Regions from separate parts of the Homo sapiens genome. Here regions 2, 3, 4, 5, 6 and 7 are each linked to region 1. Evidence: promoter capture Hi-C in 16 types of primary human blood cells and fetal thymus (Javierre and others, 2016). All regions are on one chromosome and are shown on one strand. Each heading gives the region's core, a stretch centred on a gene start or on the middle of the fragment in contact. The rest is flanking DNA. Distances are from core to core; before and after follow the strand shown. Region 1 holds the start of KRTAP4-12 (keratin associated protein 4-12). Region 2 has its middle 10 kb from the start of KRT14. Region 3 holds the start of LINC00974 (long intergenic non-protein coding RNA 974). Region 4 has its middle 15 kb from the start of KRT25. Region 5 has its middle 5.4 kb from the start of KRT25. Region 6 overlaps KRT35 (keratin 35). Region 7 has its middle 13 kb from the start of KRT32.

The links. Contacts are between HindIII fragments. The CHiCAGO score rates a contact against its expected background, and 5 or more counts as called.
Region 2: a fragment that was not itself captured here is called in contact with the fragment with the promoter of KRTAP4-12 in region 1 in 1 of 17 cell types (activated CD4 T cells); the score reaches 6.8 in activated CD4 T cells.
Region 3: a fragment that was not itself captured here is called in contact with the fragment with the promoter of KRTAP4-12 in region 1 in 7 of 17 cell types (total CD4 T cells, activated CD4 T cells, naive CD4 T cells and 4 more); the score reaches 8.6 in total CD4 T cells.
Region 4: a contact is called between a fragment that was not itself captured here and the fragment with the promoter of KRTAP4-12 in region 1, in 1 of 17 cell types (erythroblasts). The highest score is 5.7, in erythroblasts.
Region 5: a fragment that was not itself captured here is called in contact with the fragment with the promoter of KRTAP4-12 in region 1 in 1 of 17 cell types (erythroblasts); the score reaches 7.2 in erythroblasts.
Region 6: a fragment that was not itself captured here is called in contact with the fragment with the promoter of KRTAP4-12 in region 1 in 2 of 17 cell types (naive CD4 T cells and non-activated CD4 T cells); the score reaches 5.0 in naive CD4 T cells.
Region 7: a contact is called between a fragment that was not itself captured here and the fragment with the promoter of KRTAP4-12 in region 1, in 2 of 17 cell types (total CD8 T cells and total CD4 T cells). The highest score is 6.5, in total CD8 T cells.

Annotation. Positions count from the first base shown.
Region 1 is chr17:41,122,630-41,126,052 of GRCh38, reverse strand. KRTAP4-12 (keratin associated protein 4-12) reads left to right here and starts at 1,871. Exons shown (of 1, transcript NM_031854.3): 1 at 1,871-2,962. The coding sequence starts at 1,931. The coding sequence ends at 2,536. RefSeq lists an enhancer at 2,191-2,744. The HindIII fragment of the contact is 5,176 bases long and covers 1,007-3,423 here.
Region 2 is chr17:41,595,140-41,598,562 of GRCh38, reverse strand. No RefSeq gene overlaps it. Among named protein-coding and RNA genes, the nearest start is that of KRT14, 10 kb to the right of the region's middle. The HindIII fragment of the contact is 1,482 bases long and covers 944-2,425 here.
Region 3 is chr17:41,554,375-41,557,797 of GRCh38, reverse strand. It overlaps LINC00974 (long intergenic non-protein coding RNA 974), which reads left to right and starts at 3,303. Exons shown (of 3, transcript NR_038442.1): 1 at 3,303-3,423. The HindIII fragment of the contact is 4,431 bases long and covers 1-3,423 here.
Region 4 is chr17:40,738,335-40,741,757 of GRCh38, reverse strand. No RefSeq gene overlaps it. Among named protein-coding and RNA genes, the nearest start is that of KRT25, 15 kb to the left of the region's middle. The HindIII fragment of the contact is 1,719 bases long and covers 717-2,435 here.
Region 5 is chr17:40,759,014-40,762,436 of GRCh38, reverse strand. No RefSeq gene overlaps it. Among named protein-coding and RNA genes, the nearest start is that of KRT25, 5.4 kb to the right of the region's middle. The HindIII fragment of the contact is 206 bases long and covers 1,623-1,828 here.
Region 6 is chr17:41,475,901-41,479,323 of GRCh38, reverse strand. It overlaps KRT35 (keratin 35), which reads left to right. Exons shown (of 7, transcript NM_002280.6): 4 at 329-490; 5 at 838-963; 6 at 1,586-1,806; 7 at 2,121-2,614. The coding sequence ends at 2,268. Among named protein-coding and RNA genes, the nearest start is that of KRT35, 3.5 kb to the left of the region's middle. The HindIII fragment of the contact is 6,798 bases long and covers 1-3,423 here.
Region 7 is chr17:41,452,737-41,456,159 of GRCh38, reverse strand. No RefSeq gene overlaps it. Among named protein-coding and RNA genes, the nearest start is that of KRT32, 13 kb to the left of the region's middle. The HindIII fragment of the contact is 509 bases long and covers 1,265-1,773 here.

The sequences.
Region 1 (3,423 bases), core at 622-3,121:
TTAGCTTCCTGAGTAGCTGGGACCACAGACCACAGATGCATGCCACCTCGCCATTTTTTTTTTTTTTTTTGCTTTTTTTTGTTTTTTTGGTAGAGATGGGGTTTTGCCAAGTTAACCAAGTTGGTCTCAAATTCCTAACCTCAAACAATCCGCCTGCCTTGGCATCCCAAAGTGCTGGGATTACAGGTGTGAGCCACCGTGTCCAGTCTCAGAAGTCTTTTATATACTATTAACCCTTTGTCCGTGATATTAATTGCTAGTTCTTTTTTTATTATTTAGTCATTTGTGTTTTTACTTTGTTTATGATGGTTTCTTACCATACATTTTTTTTTTTTAAATTTTACTTTAAGTTTTGGGATACATGTGCAGAACATGCAGGTCTGTTACATAGTTATACATATGCCATGATGGTTTGCTGCACCTATCAATCCGTCATCTGGGTTTTAAGCCCGACATGCATCAGGTATTTGTCCTAATGCTCTCCCTCCCCTTGTCCCTCACCCCCGACAGGCTCCAGTGTGTGATGTTCCCCTCCCTGTGTCCATGTGATCTCATTGTTCAACTCCCACTTAGGAGTGAGAACATACCTTGCATCTTTTTAATTATAAATAATTGTTTTTAAATATCAGGAGGGATTTAATTGCAAAATGTTCATGCGCAAAATGTTCCTTGAACACTCTAGGAGAGACGCCCTTTCCCTGTTACAGACTGTGTGACTTCAATCTATCTGGGCCTCAAGTACCTTGGATGTAAAGAATTTAGAAAAATTGTGTCTACATAGCAGAATCCTTGTGAAGTATAAACAAGATAACAATTATAGAGGACTCAGAAAATTCCTGACACATAGTAAGCACTCAAAAAATTATAACTATTAGTATTGTTTCATCTTTCATTGGAAGTGTACAGATTAAATACATAATTGTTATTTTGTTCACTAATCACACCATTCTCTAAATAGTTGCTAAATTCTTTCCTATACATGTTTCTTATTTGTCTTGTTTAAGCTTCTGTAGGACAGAAATTAAACTTGATCCTTTGTTTCTTTTCTCCATGTATCAAGCAAAATATCTCCAACATACATTGTGAGAAAAAGCAGCTTTCGAGTATGAGAAAATCTACTTTCAATAACACTTCAGTTAAACACATTCAGTGGGTATCTTGACTTACCAACAAAATAGAACAAAAATGTTCCTTATGATCCCCATCTCTGAAGAACATGCCAACAATAATTTATAAAGGGACCTATCATGCCAATGTATTTTTACTTGTAAAGCAATGAATCATTGCATTATATCTGTTTCAAGCTAAATAGAGTCAATAACATGAAACAGGAATTTCAGTGGGATCTTTTATATCTCACTGACCAGCCACAAAATTCAAAGGAATCACAGTGTTCCTTATTATACACAAGTTACCTCCTATCACCCCCCAAAGATGAATCTTTCATCACATTTTCCTACCAGCATTCTATGTAATTTATTTTTAACCTCTTTGAGAGCAGAGGAGATTTAGTCATCATAAAATCTATTTTCAACTTATTATCCAGGAGTCAAATAAATAAAGAATTAACTTATGAAATCCAATCAAACAATGTCATGTAATGGGTCTACACATCAGAAGACACATCAGATGAAGGAAGGAGAATGAGAGCTGATTCACTTGGCTTAACCAAATTGGATAGCTCAGAATACAACAGGAAAAGGAAATGTTGCCTTTTCTATTTATAGAAATATTTACCAGATAAGGACAACTATCTAATTTACTAAAAAACAACTGATTCTCTATTAGTAATGTGCAAACCACAAGATTATTCACATTGTCATAGTGGTTCTCAGCAGGGTATAAAAAGCAAAAGAGAGAACAAGGAGAGATCAAACTCAGAACACTCACTCTCCTGGAAACCCACCGAGAACCTCCACCCTCTGACACCATGGTCAACTCCTGTTGTGGCTCTGTGTGCTCTGACCAGGGCTGTGGCCTGGAGAACTGCTGCCGCCCCAGCTGCTGCCAGACCACCTGCTGCAGGACCACCTGCTGCCGCCCCAGCTGCTGTGTGTCCAGCTGCTGCAGGCCCCAGTGCTGCCAGTCTGTGTGCTGTCAGCCCACCTGCTGCCGCCCCAGCTGCTGTCAGACCACCTGCTGTAGGACCACCTGCTGCCGCCCCAGCTGCTGTGTGTCCAGCTGCTGCAGACCCCAGTGCTGCCAGTCTGTGTGCTGCCAGCCCACCTGCTGCCGCCCCAGCTGCTGTCAGACCACCTGCTGCAGGACCACTTGCTGCCGCCCCAGCTGCTGTGTGTCCAGCTGCTGCAGACCCCAGTGCTGCCAGTCTGTGTGCTGCCAGCCCACCTGCTGCCGCCCCAGCTGCTGCATCTCCAGCAGCTGCTGCCCCTCTTGCTGTGAATCCAGCTGCTGCCGCCCCTGCTGCTGCCTGCGTCCAGTCTGTGGCCGAGTCTCCTGCCACACCACTTGCTATCGCCCAACCTGTGTCATCTCCACCTGCCCCCGCCCCTTGTGCTGTGCCTCCTCTTGCTGCTAAATCTCTGCTGTGAACACACCACTTCCTTATTACGTCCTTTCCTACAGATGAAGGCTCTCATTGCAAACATGCGGACTGTTCAAGAGAATTGATCTGGGTCCCATAAGCAAACCTCATCCTTAGAAATTCTGTATTTGCATTCTACCTTTTGTCCAAACTCCCTTCCTTCCAAAGGAATTCATTGACAATCTCCTAATAAATTGACAAATTGTCCTCCAACATCCTCCCACCTCTTTGACTTCAGGACATTTATTCATCATGCCTAAGGAATTTGAAGATTGCCTCCATCATTTGTAGGGCCACAGATCTTAAAGCCTCCAACCTTGAAGTCCAGTGAAGTCTCTCTCTTAAAGTCTTTTGCAAACATTTTTGTACCTTGTTATTTCCATGTACCAAAATAAACCTCTATTCTATTGGCACTGAAAATTGAATATGATTCTTATTCTCTTTTTAAAAAGGGTTTTATATTTAGGTCCTGGGTGATTACATTTAACTACACCTGTAGGGCTCACAGCACAGATTAGTCAACCTTCTAACAGAGGTCAACTGACATCGATCACTGCCTAGTTTTTTTCTAGAAAAGTCTTTTCAGGCTTAGGCAAATCAATTAGTCATTTTGTATTCTTTAGACAAAAAGAGTGAAGCTGAAGTCATGAAATATCCATGAATATAACAACAGGGGAAACGTTTTGAAAGATTGATCACAACTCATCATCTTTTAAAAAATAATTTCAACTTTTATTTTAGAATCAAAGAGTACATATTCGTATTTGTTACATGTTGTGTGATGCTGAGGTTTGGGCTACAAATGATTCTGTCACCAGGTACTGAGCAGTGGGTCATTTTTAGCCCTTCCTCTCTCCCTCTCTCCCCCCTTTTTGGAGTCC
Region 2 (3,423 bases), core at 435-2,934, 470 kb before region 1:
CACCATCACCACCCCCACAGCCCCACCACCACCATCACTACCATCACCACTACCACCATCCCTACCATCACCACCACAATCACCAGCACCACACCAATACGCCCCACCACCATCACCCCCACCATCACCACTCGCCCCTGCACCACCACCACCACCACCACTGAAATCACCACCCCCACCACCACTACCACCACCACCACCACCACTGAAATCACCACCCCCACCACCACTACCACCACCACCACCATCACCACCACCATCACCACTACCACCATCACTGCCATCACCACCATAATCACTGCCATCATTACCACCATCACCACCCCCACCCCCACTACCACCACCACATCATCACCACCATTACCACTACCACCATCACCACCATGACCACCACAATCACCACCATCATTACCACCATCTCCATCTCCATCACCACCACCACCACCACCACCACCACTACCTCCAGTACCTCCAACACCCCCAGCACCATCATTTCCTTTCCCCCAATCACTCCTCCAGTTCTTTGAAGGGGGTGTTGCTCATATGGGTTAAGTTAGATGGGGAGTAACCAAAGTCTTGGGACACACAGACATCACTCAAGCTGGGACAGTCAAAGGACAGATGCACACTGAGTGCTGCAGTAGAACAGTCCTCGCTAGATGCTGACAGAGAGAACAACCAACAGAACACTGATGAGATAATTGAGATAACGAGGCAGCACAGACTTGGATACCCCCATGGGGCTCCCATGTGGCTCCCTGGGAGGCAGACAGTGCCTGGTCTGCCTTGTGAAGGCTGCACAGCCTCTGGATGCTGCCTCTGCTCCTGTCCACCTAGGCTGTCTCCCTGACCGTGGGGGCCCACCAACTCTTCTTCCCCTTCCCTCACCAATATCCTCCCCCAATCTGGTTTTCCCTCTTTCACTTTGTTTTATCCAGAAGCTTTCCCTTTGTCCCTCCTAGTCTCTTGCTTATGGCCTAAACCTCGAGGCTCATTGGCACGCTGGAGCTGGCTCATGCTGGCTCTTGAGAGCTGGACATTAAAATTTCAGGAATTTTGCAAGGTGATTGTTAAATATGGCCCTCATCAAAAATTAAATTATACGAACTTAAAATTAAATGAATTATATTGAGAACAAAGGTAATGCATACTGAAAACTCATTCCTTCCAAATTATTTTACTACATTGTACTAATATCTGTGCTCTTGAGGTACTTATGACCATTTTATCCATATGGTGGACATGCTATAAGGCAGTGAGCTACTGCACGTCTCTTCCCAACCCTGTGTTAAGTGACTCCCTGTTGGTTGCTTGAAATTGGCCACAGTGGGGGTATTTACAACACGAAAAAAATAAATGTTATAAATTGGGGCTTGATTTATTGTTTTATTGATTGTCTTTTTTTTTTTTTTTTTAAGATGGAGTCTCACTTTGCCACCCAGGCTGGAGTGCAGTGCTGTGGTCATGGCTCACTGCAGCCTTGACCTGCTGGGGCTTAAGCAATCCTTCCACCTCAGTCTTCTGAGTTGCTGGGACTACTGGTGTATGCCTCCATGCCTGGCTAATTATTTTATTTATTTATTTTTGTAGAGATGGTATCTCACTATGTTGCCCAGGCTTGTCTTGAACTCCTGGGCTCAAGTGATCCTCCTATCTCAGCCTCCCAAAGCGCTGGAATTACAGGTGTGAGCCACCATGCCCAGCCCTGAATTGCCTCTTTTAGAAGCTAATTCAAGCTGAGTTTCCGTTGCTTGCAACCAAAATGTGCCCATCAATATATCCTGTTACCTAATTCTTGATTTATTTTTCTTCTATCCTTGCTGGATATTTTTAGTTTTATTATAAATATGTCTTTTATCATAAGCCATCCATGCCCTCTTTTGGAACTGGGAGACAGAAATGGTCATTTTTTTGCAAATATTGCACTGACAACCAGGATGGCCTCATTGAAACCTGAGAGGCTGCTTCCCCATCCCCTCATTCCAGCCACAGAATGTGGGCCCTGCTGGAAGCTCCCAGGCCTTCTCCCCTCACACCTAAACCATCCGCTGACTCTTCCTCATCAGTTTCCAGGCCTGCCCTATTCCCACAGCCTCCACCCTGGCCAGGCCCTTGCAGACTCACCAGCCCATCACCTGGCCGGCTGACCTCAGCAGCTCCCAGCTCCTGCAACAGGAGCTCCAGTAACATCCTGGACTCTTCTCTGTTCTCTGCCTCAAGGTCTTTGGCTGAACCTTGACACCTGTTCTCCATTTGCATCCCCCACTCCCTTTGGTCTAACTTGGGCTTAATTTAAGTGAACTTTTACCAAACACTTCCTCTGTGCCCAGTACCATGCTGGCCACCTGCGCTGACTTACCCACTCCTCTCAATAATCCTGCCAGGCTGAACTGGTTCTATTCCTATTTGATGGAAAACCAAAGCTTGGACGGCTGCAATGGCCTGTCCAAGGTCACATGGCTCGTCAGTGATGGAGCCAAGACTTGAAAGCTGGTCTTTCTGATCGGGAGGCCCTGCTCCTTCCTTGATCCCATGCGGTATCCCGTCTGGGGGAGGGAGGTGGGGTGCAAGATGCTGAATCTGTTCCCACATCTCTGACTGTGGGAAATGACTCTTTCTATCCATGAGGCTAGAACTACTCGGCGACCCCTTCCCTTCCTCTTTCCCTTTCCCTCTGTCCTGCCGACCAGAGCTCAGGACTCCTGACACAGACATTCCGACTCCCAGGTGCTGACTCTCCCCGCAACTCACCACTGTGCTGGAGTTCCCACAGCCACGCCCTCTCCCCACTCCACCCTCCAGGGTTCTTCCTTCTTTCAAAACCTGAGTCAAAGCGCACCCTTTCCAAGAAAACTTCTGTGTGCTAATCCACCCCACCTTGTGGCTCCTGTGCTCCTGGCTCCCCTCAGCCTATGGCACAGGGAAAACTCTGGGCTCTGCAACCCTCCTCCATCAGACTGGACAGCCCACGGGCAAGGGTTGTGTCTCCTGCATCAGACCAGAGTAACACTGAGGACTGACTATGTGAAAAACACTTTGTGGCCCCCTAAGGCACTATGGGGAGGTATAATCAAGGGTGGGGGCACAGATCACAGAGGCAGTGGGAGGTCTGAGAGATGGGGAGAAAGCCAGGTGACCTGAGCTGATGGGGTGGGGCTTCCTGGGAGAGGAGAGGTCTGAGCCAACAACATCCCTTACCTGGATATGGCAAATTCTCCCTACTGGTCCCCCACACCACGGCAAAGTATGTTCTGCATGGAGACCAGGGTGGCCTTTGTGAAACATCCGACAGCATCACTCACCAGCTTAGGACCCTTCAGTGGCTCCAGTGTCATCAGGATAAAGTCTGAGCTTCCCAGCACCTTTATCACCACCTGGCCTAAGGCTCTCAGTTTCATCGGGCAGGCCCAGCCTTGAGCTGTG
Region 3 (3,423 bases), core at 387-2,886, 430 kb before region 1:
TTGGGATATATCAATGAACAAAAGAGACAAAGATTTCTGCCTCTATAGAGCTTGCATTATAGGTAAGGGTTGGGCAAGAGCAACAAATGTAATAAAGAAATAAATAATACTATACTTGAAGGTGGTAAGTGCGCAAAGAAGTAGGGAATATCAAGGGAGATTGGAGTGCTATGGCAGGGTGGGGAGGAGAGCAATGTTAAATAGGATGGCCAAGGTTGGGTTCACTGAGAAGGTAAAACATAAGCAATGACTTTGCGATGGAATAGTTGCCCTGACGCCCTTCATGGGCGGGAACTGGAGCACTTTGTTTTTTGTTTTTGTTTTGTTTTTTTTTGAGACTGAGTCTCGCCCTGTTGCCCAGGCTGGAGTGCAGTGGTGAGATTTCAGGTCACTGCAACCTCCGTCTCCCGGGTTCAAGTGATTCTCCTGCCTCAGCCTCCCGAGTCGCTGGGATTACAGGCACGGGCCACCAAGCCCGTCTAATTTTGTATTTTTAGTAGAGATGGGGTTTCTTATGTTGGGATTACAGGCACACACCATCACGCCCAGCTAAGGAGCACTTTGTTTCACTCAGCCTGTTGCTGGCCACTCCTTGTGGGAGTGAGTGTGTGAGCAAGTGTGGGAACCGGAGCAAATGAACGCTGGAACCAGCCGGTTGCTCCTCTCTGGCAGGAGCAGGCTCTGTTCGGGCCCTGCAGCAGCGTCCCTATTCTTTCAGCTGTGCTGTCAGGGGATGGCCAAATACCAACCAGTTCAATGGAGGTTCAGGGTGGCAGCCCCTGCCTTCTTGGCACCCAGGTTCTTGTCTGGCGTCCAGGAAGAAGAATCAGGTCACATAAACTGTTTGAAAGGTGACGAATGCAAAATACTTTACTGGGTGTTGGGTGGCTCTCAGTGGAAAGGGAGGATGGAAAGGTGATGGGATGGTGATCTTTCCCTGAAGCCCCACCGTCTCCGGCAGGGCCCCTCTCCAAAGCTGCACCATCTGAAGTTAGCCAGATCTATCCACAGTCTCCGATGCTCAGTTGCTTTTCTGCTCGCCGCTCAGCTGCTTATATCCTCAGTGCTCAGCCGCTTGTGTTGCTCTGCCAGCTGAAGTCTTTTATGGGCACAGCATGTGGGCAGGCAGGCCAAAAAGGTAACATTTTTGGGGAAAATGGGGTCCTTTAGGGCCGAGGTTCCAGGCTTAAGGGTAGGGTTTAGCCAGGAGCCCAGCCCTTCTGTATCAACTTGACGGAGTGAGGGAGGCAGTCAAGCGTGTGTGGGGACCACTCCAGGCACAGCAGCTAGTGCTGATGATCATCCTAACACACAGTGCCTTGAGCAGAGGAGTGACAGGCCACTTGATGAGAGGCTGCGAGGCTAGGAGCAGAAACAGAGAGCCCAGTGTGCAGGGAGGTGAAGAGCCCCTGGCACTCAGAGTGAAGACGGTCAGAGGTGGCTGGATTCTGAGCATCATCTGAAGAAAGCACTGCCAGGAGTTCTTGAAGGACTGCATATTGTAAAAGAAAGAAGTCAAGGAGGTCTCTGAGTCTTTTGTCTGAGCAACTGGATGATAGGAGTTGTGGGATGGAAGTTGGCTGGTATGAAAGATGGGGAGTCAGTTTCAGACATGCTAAATTTACATTGTCTTTTGGACACCCAAACGGAGATCTTTTAGAAGTCTCATGCCAGTAATCACACTTGTTACTAAATTCTGTAGCCATCAGGGTTTTTGCCTGCAAAGATCAGAAGCCACACTCTGAAGCCAGTTTGTTAAAGGATGTTAGGTAAGCCATAGACTCTCCAGGAAGAACTCGCAGGGAACAGGTTTGAAGGCAGCACAGCCCGGAGCAAGCCCACCCTTGCCACTATCTGCAGGTGCAGATTCAGTAGCCCATTCCACTTGGCGCTATCACCAAACTTGTGGCGCTGCTGCTTCTAGAAACTGGAGGTCTGCAGTTATTCCTTCCAGCATGGATTCCACCAGGTGCCTCCTTTTTTAGGACATTAGCTCCCAGCTTACAGGCTTCTGTGATGTGTGTGACTGATCATGTGTCTGTGCTCCAGCTGCAAGGGAGGCTGGAAGGCTAATTTCTGGCTTCTATAGCCAGGAGGCACAGACACTAGAGGGAGAATTCCTTTACAAAGGAGCTGGGCGACTAAGTGTAAGAACAATTGTCCACAAGGAAGGAGCAAGGACTAACACTGATTGCGCACTTAATAATGTTCCAGGCACTTCGCTAAGCATTTTATATAAGATAAGGGAATAAACCCTGTATCTAATCTTCACAGCAATCTCATGATGCTGTCCTTGTTTTCATTTTACACATGAGGAAACATTTTTAGCGAGATTAAATGACTTGCTGAAAAGGTCACACAGCTCCTAAGCAGTGGAGACAGGAACTGAATCTAGGAAGTCTGATCCAAGGACACTGGGATTATGAAGCCCATTTTATAGATGAGGAAATTCTAAGTTAGAGAGGTTAAGTAACTTGTCCAAGGTCACATAGCTTGTAAATGATCAAGCAAAGATATAATTCCAGTTTGGCCTGGCTCCAAAGCTGGTGCTCTGTTTCCTGTTCTCTATGGCCTTGAGCAATTATTGAGCCCCAAAAGAATACAGAGGCTAGCAAATCCCATAAGCAGAGGCTTGTCAAAAATACCTTATGTGGGCTGGGTGTGGCGGCTCATGTCTGTATTCCCAGCACTTTGAGAGGCTGAGGTAGGAGGATCACTTGAAGCCAGAAATTTGAGATCAGCCTGGGCAACAGAGCAAGACCCCGCATCTACCAAAAAAAGAAAAAAATATTGGACAGGCATGGTGGCATGCACCTGTTGTCCTAATTACTGGGTTACTTGGGAGGCTGAGGTGGGAGGATCACTTGAGCCCAGAAGTTTGAGGCTGCTGTGAACCATGATCATACCACTGTACTCCAGCCAGGGCAACAGAATGAGACTGTCTCTAAATTAAAAAAAAAAAAAGAAAAAGAAAAGAAAAAAAAAGGAAAGAAAAAAGGCTTACGTGGGAAGCAATGACTGTATGAAGAGCTGAGAATAAGACGAGTGACCTGGCACAGGTAGATTCTTTCCTGGGATCTCAGATTCCCCCTAGAAGGCCCTGGGTCTGTGCTTGTCAAAGGAAGGAATGGGTGAATGAGCAAACGGTGCAGGGAGGAGGATGACAGAGGAGGGTCTCTATTATTATTCATATCATTCTAACAGTCCGCAAATATCTACCCAAATCTCTAGAGCTTTGATCTCGAGTCCCCGCCCCTTGGAGTGTCCTGCTTGGTTGTGGAGGCTGCTGCTGCTGCTGCAGCCTCTTGGCTTCAGGCTCTGAAGCACTCCCCATCTCAGGCCCAAACAGGAATAAAATCAGTTCCTTTCTCTGTTCCTCTTACTAGACTGAGATCCACTGGGATTGTCTGAGGGAATTCTTGT
Region 4 (3,423 bases), core at 327-2,826, 380 kb after region 1:
GGTATTGATCCCAGGGCAATCTTTAATAAGCACCCTGCACACTGAACTCAGCTCTGACTCTGCTTCCCAGAGAATCAACCTACAACTGCCGCACACATCAACAATGATGAGTTACAGAATCATAAAGCCAAATGAAGGAAGCAAGTCCCAGCAGAGTGCATAAGGCGGATTCCATTGTATAAAGTTCCAAATAGAAAAACTAAACAAGATATTGTTTAGAGGTGCATATGTAGATAGCAAAACCTTTTTTAAAGGCAGGTGAAAGGTTTTCTTCCCTTCTGACACCAACTCAGTGTCCTACAATTCAATTCAATTCTAACACTAACACCCTGGAGTTAGTGTCAGACTCCACGTGTCTAAAGGCTCAGTCCCACAAGACTGTCCTCACATCAGATACCAGCCACAAGTATCAGGCCCGCAGGTTACCCACACTTCTGTCTGACATGGCTACAAATTCAGGGTTCTCACAACCTCCCCCTCCGCAAAGTTCAATAATTCTCTAGAATGACTCACAGAACTCAGGTAAGTGCTTTACTTATTATTGTGGGTTTACTATAAAGGATACAACTCAGCAACAGCTGAATACAAGAGATGCCCGGGGCAAGGTCAGGGGCGAGGAACACGGAGCTTCCATGCCCTGTCCGGGTGGGCCACCTCCCAGCACCTTGATGTGTTCACCAATCCAGAAACTCTCTGAACCCCCTCATTTAGAAGCTTTTATTGAGGTTTCATCATGTAAGCATGATCGATTATTAACTCAGTCTCCAGCCTCTGTCCCCTCTCTGGAGGGTGGGGAAGGGTTAGGGCTGAAATGTCTAGGCTTCTCATCAAGGTTTGGTCTTTCTGGCAGCCAGCCCCCATCCTAAAGCTACTTAGCGGCCCACCAAGAGTCACCTCATTAGAACCAAAGATGCTCCTATCACACAAGAAATTTCAAAGGATTTAGGAGCTCTGGGTCAGGACAAGAAAAGATGCTTCTATCACTGAGGAAATTACAAGGATTTTAGAAGCTGTGTGCCAGGAAATAGAGACAAAGGCCAACTATATATTTCTTATTATTTCACAGCAAGTAATAAAGAAAACTCAGGATAGTGATGACACCTGAGCAGTAATAGGGGAGATATCACTGGGGAGAAACAGCAGGGTCTCTAAGATACAGGTATGTTTTACTATTATTTATTATTTAAACTACACAATTTCTAAATTTTTTGTATGCAGGAAATTATACAATGAAAAATTTTTAAGCAGATGACAAAAATAATACCAATATTTTAAGTAAAGAAAGTGACTAATGACTAGAAAATAACGATGCTATTGAGAGATGCAGCAAACTGAAAAGGGATTCAGTGGAATGGAAAGGTGGCGAGTTTAGCTTAGAACACAAGCACGAAGGTGAGAACAATCAATCAATTTTCTAAGAGAAAGAATTGGAGCAGGAGGGGAGGTTTTGGATTGCATAGGAGAGAGGTAACCACTGATACCTTGAAAGTCGATCAGAAAGAAGAACTCTGCAGACAATGAAGACCCGAGGTCAGGAACACATTGAGCAGTGGATGAGGATGCAGATAGACATGAATTAGAAAATAGGGTTAGGACGGAAGCGGTGGCTTACACCTGTAATCCCAGCACTTTGAGAGGCTGAGGGAGGAGGATGGCTTGAAGTAAGGAGTTCTAGACAAGCCTGGGTCACATAGCAAGACCTCATCTCTACTTTAAAAAAAAAAAAAAAATTAGCCGGGCATTGTGTGGAGTGCCTGTAGTCCCAGCTACTCGGGAGGGTGGGGTGGGAGGGCCACTTGAGCCCCAGAGATGGAGGCTGCAGTGAGATATGATCACACCACTGCACTCCAGCTTGGGCAGTAGAGCAAGACCCTGTCTCAAAACAAAAAAAAAAGGGTCGGAGGAACCCAGGAGGGAGGAGAGTTAAGGTAAGTCAGGAGACTTTGTTTGCATTGTTTGTCTTGAGTTCCCAGAGCAAACAATGCAGCCCCAACAAATGTGTGCATAAAAGACATTCCCCGCCAAATAGAAAACACTTTGTTGGTTTTATGCCCCTTGGGTTCTGTGCCACTGTTCCCATCCATTTAATAACAATAATCAAGAATGTTCTCAAAAATAAGACTCTTATTCAGTAATAGAACTACTTCATTTGGAAAGTGATTTTTGAAATAGAATAATTACTATGTTGCAGAAAGAAAACAACTTTCTGGAGATGTTTCCAGAGCTTCCACTAACACAGTGTAGCCAGTGTGTCTTCATGGCTCCCTAGCAAAGCTGTTTCTCTTCCATCTGCCACTGTGGCTTCTGTCATTGCTAATTCTTGGTTCATAGCAATTATGAGATTTTCAGGTATTTACATTAATGTCTTACTAGATAAAGTCTTACTTCATAGGGAAACCAAATCTTATAATATTGCATCTGTCCTTACTTAAGCTTAAAGTTATATCCGCATAGACCTGCACAGGTAATAAAACTGCCCAAATGGTGGATGTATATTCAGTTAGGGATAATCTAAGAGAAGGTGGAAGATAGCATTGAAATTGATATTTCATAGTCACCACCTTTATTCTGCAAACATTTCTGATTTGTTCTTTTAAAACACCTATCACTCTGCCCCTTGGAGAATGCTTACAAATATTAACTAAAAACTGTGTATTCATAGTTTTTGTGTGAAATAATTCCAACTCGGTTCCATTTCTCCTTTAATCTTTGTAGAAAAATGTGGATACATCAGTTTGAGCAAAGGATGACTGATGTCTGTTATCCATTAGTTTGGTCAACAGATATCAATACAGTGCCCACTTCAATCCTATGGGAGTGTGAATCTAGGGGAATCCAGACAAACTGGCCCCTGCTTTCATGGAGCTTGTGTATTAAGATGATACCTGGGATTTAATTTACAGGCACAACTGAGTGACAATACAGAGGGGACAGTGCCACTAAAGATTTGTATTACTTACGTTTCCCAGAGAAGGAAGCATGTCATTCTGTGCAAGACCACGTGGGGAGCACCGATGTGGGCCAGGAGGCAGAAAGGAATGAGGAGAAAGAGCCTAGACCAGAGCCTTTATTGGGGTTTCCACGGGAGAGCCAAGGCAGGGTAGGGTAGGCAGCTTAAGACAGACTGGTTTGAATTAATTCCAGTGTGCTTTGGTCTATAAGGTGCCTGGTACCTGGCCCTGGGGTGATGTAAGGCAGGGGAAATATGGCTTGGTGTGTGAATTAGATAAGGAGGTGGTTGGAGCTCTAGACTCAGGATTAACTGGTTTGTGGAAGAAAGACGTGCTCCTGGCTGAGCCCTTTGCTACCTCTAAAAATTGGCTAGCACAGGGAGGGGCGTTCTCTCCCCAGCCAGCAAGTTTTGGAGGTATTGAAATATCATAAAATATAGAAAATTAAAAACATGACCAATACAGGAGTGGG
Region 5 (3,423 bases), core at 476-2,975, 360 kb after region 1:
AACAGATCCCTAAATAGCTCTAAATTTCAACCCCAGCCCCTCTCAGCTGCAGACTAAGCACTTCTGCCTCGTCAGGGATCTGCTGGGAGACACACCATTCTGTGTCCCCAGGGCAGGCTTGCCAATCTCAATTTTACAGCATCCCTAAAACAAACCTGAATCTGGGCCCTAGCCCTTCTCAGCTGTGGTCAGAGAGAAGTTCTAACTGCCCAGGAATCCAGAGGGAGGCACTCTCATCTGAGCTCCACAGGCAGCCCAGCTGACCTGGGTCCCACAGAAGATCCTGAAATGGCCCTGAAAAGCAGTCCCAGCCCCTCTCAGCTGAGGCTTGAGAGTAGTGCTGCGCACACAAGACCTGGAGACAGACATGCTCATCAGTGCTCCTATAGCCTGACCCACTGATCTTGGTCCTGCTGTGGATCTTGAAATGGCCCTGTAATTCAGCACCAGCCTCTATCAACTGTGGTCTGAGAGCAAGCCTGCCTGCCCGGGGACCCACCAGAAAACATACCCTTCTGTGACCCCAAAGACAGGTCTGAAGAGCTCAGTCTCAGTTACAGGCTCTAAAGCAGCCCCAAAACTCAGTTCTAACTTGTCTCAGCCATGGACTTGAGCAGCACTACATACCCAGGGTCTCACTTAGTGATCCACTGGGAGACTTTCCAGAGACACAGAAGAAGCCACACCCACTCACACACCTGGTAATGGCCCATCATCTACAGATCTTGAAATGGACTCTCATCCCAGTGCCAGCTCTATGGACCAAGGTTCTACAGACAGTCCAGTCAACCCAGAGACTACACAGAATCCACAGCTACTACAGCCCCTGGTAACAGACCTATCAACTATAGACCCCACTGTGGACTCAGCAATAGCCATGTGATCCAGCTCCAACCTCATTTGACCACAATCCCATCACCACAGGAACCTAATAGAAGAAGGCCTTAAACTGCCAAAAGCAGTCTATAAAGATTTAAAGAGGGCCAGGTGTGGTGGCTTTCACCTGTAATCCCAGCACTTTGGGAGGCTGAGGCGGGTGGATGGCTTGAGCTCAGGAGTTCAAGACCAGCCTGGGCAATATGGCAAAACCCCATCTCCACAAAACATATAAAAATTAGCTGAGTATGGTGGCATATGCCTGTCATTCCAGTTACTCAGGAGGCTGAGGTGGAAGGATCACTTGAGCCTGGGAGCCAGAGATTGCAGTGAGCTGAGATCACGCCACTGCACTCCAGCCTGGGTGACAGAGTAAGATCCTGTCTCAAAAAAAAAAAATGAAGGAGGTATTTGTGCCTTCAAATGCACAGATACCAATGCAAGACTACATGAATAATGAAGAATAAGGCAAGCATGACACCACCAAAGGAAACTAATAAGGCTCCAGTAACTGACCCCAAAGAAAGGGAGATCTACAAATTGCCTGAAAGAAAATTCAAAATAATCATCTTAAAGAAGCTCAATAAGATGCAAAAAGACATAGATAAATAACTAAATGAAATTAGGAAAACAATGCATAAACAAGATGAGAAGCTTAATTTTTAAAATAGAAACCATAAAAATAAAACCAGAAATCCTAGACCTGAAGAATACAATGACAAAACTGAAAAATTCAATAGAAAGCTTCAACAGCAGACTCTATCATGCAGAAGAAAGAATTAGCAAACTCAAAGAAAGGGCATTTTAAATTACTGAATTAGAGGAACAAAAATGTTTAAATAATAAAAAAGAGTAAAGAAGGCATACAGGATCTAGTCTATCCCACCAAGCATACAAATATATACATTATGAGGATTTCAGAAGGAGGAAAGAGAGAAAAGGAAAGAAAGCTTATGTAAAGAAATACATCCCAAATCTTGAGAGGGATATGGACATACAGATTCACGAAATTCAAAGGATCCCAAGCAAGATCAACCCAAAGACAAACACTCTGAGGCACATTAATGCATGTGGGGCTTAAAACCTAGATGGCAGGTTGATAGGTGCAGCAAACCACCATGGCACATATATACCTATGTAACAAACCTGCACATTCTGCACATGTATCCCAGAACTTAAAGTAAAATTTTTTAAAAATTGCCAAAAGACAGAGAGAATCTTGAAAGCAGCAAAAGATAAGAGACTGATTACATACAAGGGAACCCCCATGAGGCTATCAACAGACTTCTCAACAGAAACCTTGCAAGTCAGGACAGTAGGATAATATATTCAAAGTGCTGAAAGAAAAAAACCTGCCAACCAAGAATATCATACCCAGAAAAGTCTGGGCTTCATAAATTAAGGAGATATCCCCAAACAAAAGCTGAGGGAGTTCATTGCCTCCCTTACAAGAAATGATAAAGATAGGTCAATTAGTTGAAACAAAGGAACTCTAATTAGCAACATGAAAACATATGAAAGTTAAAAAAACTCACTGTTAAAGGTAAATATACAAATTCAGAATATACTACTGTAATGGTGGTGTACACATCACTTATATCTGGTATAAAGGTTAAAAGACCAAACTATTAAAACTAATTATAAGTACAATAATTTGTTAAGGAATACACAATATAAAGAGATATAAATTGTGACATCAAAAAAATAGATGGAGGGGTAGTAAAACTGTAAAGTTTTTGAATGCAGTTGAAGTTATCAGCCTAAAATAACCTGTTCTAACATGTTCAGTGTAAGTCTCATGATAACCACAAAGCAAAATTCTATAGTAGATACACAAAAGAGAAAGAGAAAGGAATCAAAGCATGCCACTAGAGAAAGTTGTCAAATCACAAAGGCAGACAGCAAGAAAGGAAAAAAGAAACAAAGGATCTACGAAACAACTGGAAAACAACAAAATGGCAGTAGTAAGTCCTTACCTATCAATAATTACCTTGAATATAAATGGATTACATTCTCCAATCAAATGACACAGAATAGCTAAGGGTACTAAAAAGGCAAACACACACACACACATACACAAAATCTGTATGCTGTCTACAAGAGACTCACTTCAGCTTTAAGGACACACATAGACTAAAAGTGAAGGGATGGAAAAAGATATTCCATGCAAATAGAAACAAAAAAGAGCAAAGGTAGCTATATTTATATCAGAGAAAAGTAGACTTTAAGTCAAAAACTATAAAAAGAAAGAAAGTCATTATGTAATGATAAAGAAGACAATTCATCAAGAGGATATAACAATTGTAAATATATATGCACCCAACATCAGAGCACCTAAATATATAAAGCAAACATTAACAGGTATGAAGGGAGCAATAGACAACAATGCAACAATAGTAGGGGACTTCAGTACAACAGTTTCAACAATGGATCAATCATCCAGACAGAAAATTAGTAAGGAAAGATTAGACTTAAACTACACTTTAGACCAAGTGGACCTAACAGATGTATATAGAACATTATATCAAACAAGAGCAGAATACACAT
Region 6 (3,423 bases), core at 492-2,991, 350 kb before region 1:
CACGGCACAGCAGGTGAGCATGGGGGAGGAGGTGAACATGGGGAGGAGGTGAGCATTGGGGATGAGGTGAGCATAGGGGGAGGTGAACATGAGGGAGCAGGTGTGCATAGGGAAGAGGAGGTGAGCATGGGGAGCAGGTGAGCATAGAGAGCAGGTGAGCATGCAGAGGAGGTGAGCATGGGGAGGAGGTGGGCATGGGGAGCAGATGAGCATGGGGAGGAGGTGAGCATTAGGAGGGGTGAGCATGGGGAGGAGGTGAACATGAGGAGGAGGTGAACCTTGGAGGCAGCCCTCTGGGAATTAGTACTCATCCTGGTCTGTGCTATAGGAAGTGAACTCACTGCGCTGCCAACTTGGTGACCGCCTCAATGTTGAGGTGGACGCTGCCCCACCTGTTGACCTGAACCGAGTTCTGGAGGAGATGAGGTGCCAGTATGAAACCCTGGTGGAGAATAACCGCCGGGATGCTGAAGACTGGTTGGACACCCAGGTAGGTACCTGGAAACAGTCAGTGCAACAGGGGTATGTGGTGGCTCACATGGAAGTGACCCTGGGGCTCTGAATCAAGAAATCTAACTTTGAGTCCCATCTCTGTTTTGACCTTGCTGACAAGGTCAAAACAGACCCACTTCAATTGACCTTGCTGACAAGGTCAAAACAGACCCACTTGGGCAGGTTGCTGTCCTCTGAGCAACAATGCCCTCCAGTATAAAATAAATGAGTGGGACTGGGGAATCGGGAATGTCTTTCTTGGCTCATGATTCTAACCGGCCTCTGTAGCTCTCTGAAGCCAAGTCCCTGGTGTGGCTGACCAGGTTCTGTGTGTGTATGTTTCAGAGTGAGGAGCTGAACCAGCAGGTGGTGTCCAGCTCAGAGCAGTTGCAGTCCTGCCAGGCAGAGATCATCGAGCTGAGACGCACGGTCAACGCCCTGGAGATTGAGCTGCAGGCTCAGCACAGCATGGTGAGCCCCAAGGCAGGGTGGAGCTGCCTCTGGACCAAGCCGAGGAGCACACAAGCTCCCCAGCTTCCATGCTTTGACCACACAGGCGGACTCCAGGGGTCCATGTTCTTGAGCACCAGGGGTTCTCTATGCAGAAAAGAGGGAATGAGGGACCAGCTCCAGTCACAAATCCCCCAGTGGTAAAGGACAAGAGACCTGTAGCAACTGACATGTCCAGGCAGTAGGTCCTATATTTGTGCAAGCAGATACATCTTCTGAGTAACTATCAGTTACTCAGAGATGACACTAACAGGGAGATACTTTCTAGATCAAAGAAGCCACAGGGGCTAATTAGCTCATCTCAAGTGAGATGTCTGATTGTGGTTCATCCTAGCTCAAACTCTGATTCTCCGAGCTTCTGTTCTTGGATTCTGAGGCCTCACTGAGACCCAGATTCCTTCCTTGCTCCTTCTCTGACCTCTAGCCTTTTTCCTCCCTACACAACTCTTGACCTCACAGAGAGATGCTTTGGAATCCACCCTGGCAGAGACGGAGGCCCGCTATAGCTCCAAGGAAGATTCCTTCCTTGCTCCTTCTCTGACCTCTAGCCTTTTTCCTCCCTACACAACTCTTGCCCTCACAGAGAGATGCTTTGGAATCCACCCTGGCAGAGACGGAGGCCCGCTATAGCTCCCAGCTGGCCCAGATGCAGTGCATGATCACCAACGTGGAGGCCCAGCTGGCCGAGATCCGGGCTGACCTGGAGCGGCAGAACCAGGAGTACCAGGTGCTGCTGGACGTCCGGGCCCGGCTGGAGTGTGAGATCAACACGTACCGGGGCCTGCTGGAGAGTGAGGACAGCAAGTGAGTATCACTGCATGTGCTCTTGTCTTCTCACTGCAATCTACCAAGTTCTGGGAAGACAGCATGGTGCCTAGAAAGAGCCTGGCATTCGGAGTCTGGAGTTCTGTTCTCTTAGTTCTGGTCTTCCTGAAAACTCATCACGTGACTCCAGCAAGCCCCCTTTCCTCTCAGGGCCTGTTTCCCTTTTGGTAAAACAAGGGGGCAGGATCAAGGTGGTTTTTAGGGTGCTTCCCAGTTTGCATAGTCTAGGATCTACTTTGAGTTACTGCAAACAGCAACTGGAAAATCACAGTAATTTGTTTTCTTTTTTCTAGGCTCCCCTGTAACCCATGTGCACCTGACTACTCACCCTCCAAGTCATGCCTTCCCTGTCTTCCTGCGGCCTCCTGCGGTCCTAGTGCAGCCCGCACAAACTGCAGCCCCCGCCCCATTTGTGTGCCCTGCCCAGGGGGTCGGTTCTGAGAGCGGGTGACCCAGATGGCCATGGCTATTGTCTCCAGGGCTTGAACTTGGCCTCTACCCAAACTTAACCCTTGTAGCCCAATCCCCTCTCTTCGCGCAGAGCCCAGGCCCAGGGTCTGGCTGAAAAGGCTTTCTGCAAATACATGCCCTAAAGTTTCTCAGAGCCTGTCACAAAGGCCGGCTGCCCCCAAAGGTCTCAACTCCTCATCATTTCAATGGGTGCCAGGGTCTCTGTTCTCAGGCTGCCTCCTGGGTCAGGTTTTCCTTCTAGGTGCTGTTCCGGTGGATTCTGAAATGCAGTAGAGGGCTTTTGTTGGCAGAACAATAAAGTGCATTTGCTCAGGCCCCTGATGCCTAACTTGCACCATTCTGGTGTTGTTGGCTTGTGTCTCTGCTGTGTCCAGGGGGTGACTGTTGGGCAGCCGAATGGGAGATGTGTGACCAAGTATGACCCTTTGGATGACAGGGTCACTATGCCCCTGTTTGGGGTGGGTAGAGGCCTACAGTGAGAGCTTTTGCTTGGCTTCCCTGATGAAGACCTTTCTCCAAGATTCCAGTGTGGTGCCAGGTGTTTTCAGACTGCTGTGGAATCCCTCTTAGTATACGTGGTCACCTGGGGATCCCAGAGTGGGAGGGACAAAACTGAGATGGAAACTGAGATCAGCATAACAGGGAGGGTTTTAGGCCACTTTATCAGCCTCTTGTCTGTGGTCCTTGTAAGACCGGCGATAGGGTGTCTCCCTCCCAGGGTACTTTTAGGGGTGCATTTACATAAGCCCCCTACCATTGCAGCCCTTTCATGCAGCCCTCCAAGTTCAGCAACCCCCTTAACAATCCACAGCCCATCATAAGCAGGAGATGGAGAGTGTGCTCGCCTTCAGGGCTTCTATCCCGAATGCTAAGGCTCTTGTCCTTAGGAGGCTTGTGCATGTGCTCCTGTGCTCTTGGCATCTGGTGAGGTGTACAACGAGCCCTCCTCAGATGGGTGTGAGAGCTCCCAGCAGCTTGACCCAAAGGCTCTCATCTGTGTCCAGAATGTCCTCCCCAAACAGGCAAGGCAAATAGCAAGTTCCCTTAATCCCAGTGGGAAAGGGAGAAGGGCCAAGACCAAAGTTTCTGAGCAAAAAACGAGGATGTGCGTTCCCAGTTGGCATG
Region 7 (3,423 bases), core at 270-2,769, 330 kb before region 1:
CCCGTAGCCCAGGCTGGAGTGCAGTGGCATGATCTTGGCTCACTGCAACCTCTGCCTCCTGGGTTCAAGTGATTCTTGTGCCTCAGCCTCCTGAGTAGCTAGGACCACAGGCACATGCCACCATGCCTGGCTAATTTTTGTATTTTTAGTAGAAATGGGGTTTCACCATGTTGGCCAGGCTGGTCTCGAACTCTTGACCTCAGGTGATTCACCCACCTTGGCCTTCCAAACTGCTGGGATTACAGGCGTGAGCCACTGCACCCGGCCTGTATTTCATAAAATGTAACACTTGAATGCAATGATATCAATTCGGCTAAACAGAAAGTTCCTAAGATCATTTGATGTCTATCTTTTTGCCCAACTGATCAAGACAAATTTGTATTTAAATAGCAGTGTCCCTTAATCATAATATGTAAACAAAGTCACCAATGAGCATCTAGGATTAATGGAGAAGATCAGTGCCTTTGGCTTCAGAAAAACTGGGCTAGACCCCCAGTTCTGCTGCTAATGTGCTGTGTGATTTTGGCAGAACTCTTAATCTCTATGCATCTCAGTCTTCTCCCCTTTAGAAATGGGAGTAATTCTACCTTTTTCACAGAGTTGTTGGGATATAGTACATATAAAAATGCCTGTCATGATGCCTGGCATATTGTAGGTGCCTGATGAATGTTGAGTAAAGAAAACATGCTTTGGCAACAAATTTCTCTTCTCTTCTGACTTTCCCCAATTACAATGGCAGCTGAGTCATATTTTGGAGCCATTCTGAAGCCCAAGTTTCAGAAACAACAACAGCAGCAGCAGCAGCAGCAACAACAACATATGGGTAGCTTTGCTTTGCTCTAAGAGCATTGGATGAACTTCCAGTCTTGGTGTAAATGCCCTGGTAGAGTGAAGGCCCTGGTGTCTGAGGCTCAGCGTCCAGTCCTGGAGTTCACCATCCATTCCCAGGTGCCCTCCCTCTGCCCAGCCCTCTGGCTCCAGAGCGGACTGAAGGTCTCCCACATGCTTAAGGGGTCCAATTTTTAAGCCTCATTCACTGTGCTGTGTGAAGCAGGGATGGCAACTACAGCTCACAGGTCAAACCCCACTGCTACTTGTTTTGGTAAATCAAGTTTTATTGGAGCATAGCCACACCCATTCATTTCCCTGTTGTCTATGTCTGCTTTGTGCTACAATGGCAGAGCTAAGTAGTTGCAGTACAAAGAGAGTATACGACTTGCAAAGCCTAAAATATTTAGCATCTGTCTTTTTAACAGAAAAAGCTTGTCCATCTTGGTGCAGAGGAAACAGAATGTGCTAGGGGCCCTGGGACCAGTCCTGGCTCTGTATCTGACTTGCTTGGCATCCCTGGGGAGCTCACTGTCCTTCTCTGGTCTCTGAAGCACGAAAGGTTGAATTAGTACTTGGAAGTTTTCTTTAGTTCTAATAACTTAGCAGTCTTTGCTCTATTGCTCTTTAGGGATTCCTGAGGCTCTTATCAGAGAATTTTACTTTTTTGGGTATTGAAGGTCAGTGGAGAGGACGATTCATCTTAGAGCCAATGCCATTCCTAGAGAGAGGCCAGATAGTCACTCAAGGAACAAAGTCTAACTTTTCAATGGGGCATCTCTAAAGAGAAAACATTTAACATTTCTTTTCACAACAGAAGGCAGTAACAAGAAGTCCAAAGTCAGCCCTTTCTTTCATAAAGTGGGGAGCTACTTCTGAGGACTGAATAACTGCTGATGGGTTGTTCTGATGGCAGAACAAATGAGGATTCATTGGGGGAAAGCTTGTGTATCACATCTGCTCCTATGGCAGGTGAATAAAAGCTCTGGGTGAGGAAACACTCACACCTGAGCACCTGGCCCTTGTCACCAATCTGCAACTCAACTGTCTAGGACCATGGCTTCTAGTTAAAGCAGAAATCCCTGCTCCTCAAGCTTTGGCAAGAGCCATTTGAAGCCTCCTTGCTCCAGACAGGCTGTGGCCAGAAACCACTCTAGAAACTCTGTACCCAATGTCTGTAGATCCCAGTATTAAGACTGGGGCCCACCTGTAAGAGAGTCACCAACCTAGTAGCCATCTCCTTAGAACCTGTGGCTCACAGTCAGTCCAGCCTGGCCCTGCCAGCAGTCACTCTGCCTGTCCTCTGCCAGGGACCAGGAACATCCCTGCCAGTATGGGCACCTGTGGCTGGTTCAGTGAAGACATCCTCAGCAGCAGTGGGAAAGGGATCATGCAGTTCTTAAGTGAGTGCCTGGCCAACTGCTTGCAGAAGTTGCAGCAGTTGGAGCAGGAGAATGAGAAGCAGGGGTGGTGCTGAGAGCCAGCAGTGGAGCAAACGGCAGTGCCCTGACATATGCTCCAATTACTGCTCACACTTTGAGACCATTAAGGAGCTCCAACAAAAAGTAAGATGAGGCCTTGAGCTCTGGTGTCAGTGGCATGGAAAGAGAGGGCTGAGGATTGGTGATGGGAGAATTGGAGGGGTTGCCTGGGGGGATGACAGTCCATGAATGTTCATAAAGATGGATTGAAGGTGCCAGAAATAAACTGTGATGTCAAGGGCCCAACCACTTGGTTCTACAACCAGTTCCATTCAACAAGCATCATTGCTGATGTCTGCAATGAGAGGACTGTGAGTGGGATATGGATTTATTTCTTCACAATCCAGATCCTGCCTTATTTAAGGACATGCCACCATTCACTCACTAGTTATTGAGCACCAGCAATGAGTGATTGCATCGCTGGGTGCTGGGGAGCAGACAGTGCCTACAAAATGAAGCCTCAGCTCTTTAGCCTGGCATTCAAGGCTGCCATGTTCTCAGCCTCACTTTTTTTTGTAGCTTACCTCTTTCTAATCTTCTGCAAACATCCTGTGCTTCTATCAAACTGCTTTGTCACTTGCCCTATGCTTCTGTCAAACTGCGTTGTCACTCACAAAATGTTTGTTCACATGTGTAGTGCTTTCTTTCTCATCTTTGCATGGCCAAATTCTAGTTGGGCTTCAAAACCCAGGTGATATTCCCCACCTCCTGGAATCCTCTCTAGAAGCTAATCCCCCTGGGATGGATTTTGCCTTCCATGGAATAACCCACAGCCGCATATCTGAACGTCTCTTGTGGCATTCTCATCTTTCTATTTGTTTTGGAGTTCCTGTTCTGTACAAGATGGTGGAAAGGATGAACAACCTAACTTCATTTTTAAAAAATTAATCACATTTATTTAGTATTTTCCATTAAGTGCTGATATTCAGCTGGGATGTAGCAGTCTGTCTCTGTGGCCGTTTCCACATCTCCTTTTAGATTGCTGCCAACAGTGGTTATAATATTTCTGAAATCATCCTTGATTCTACTAAATGTCAAACCTGAACTGGGAATTTTCACATACCTTTTTTCTTTGAACCATTTCAGCAATCCTCTAAGGTGGATATTATTATTT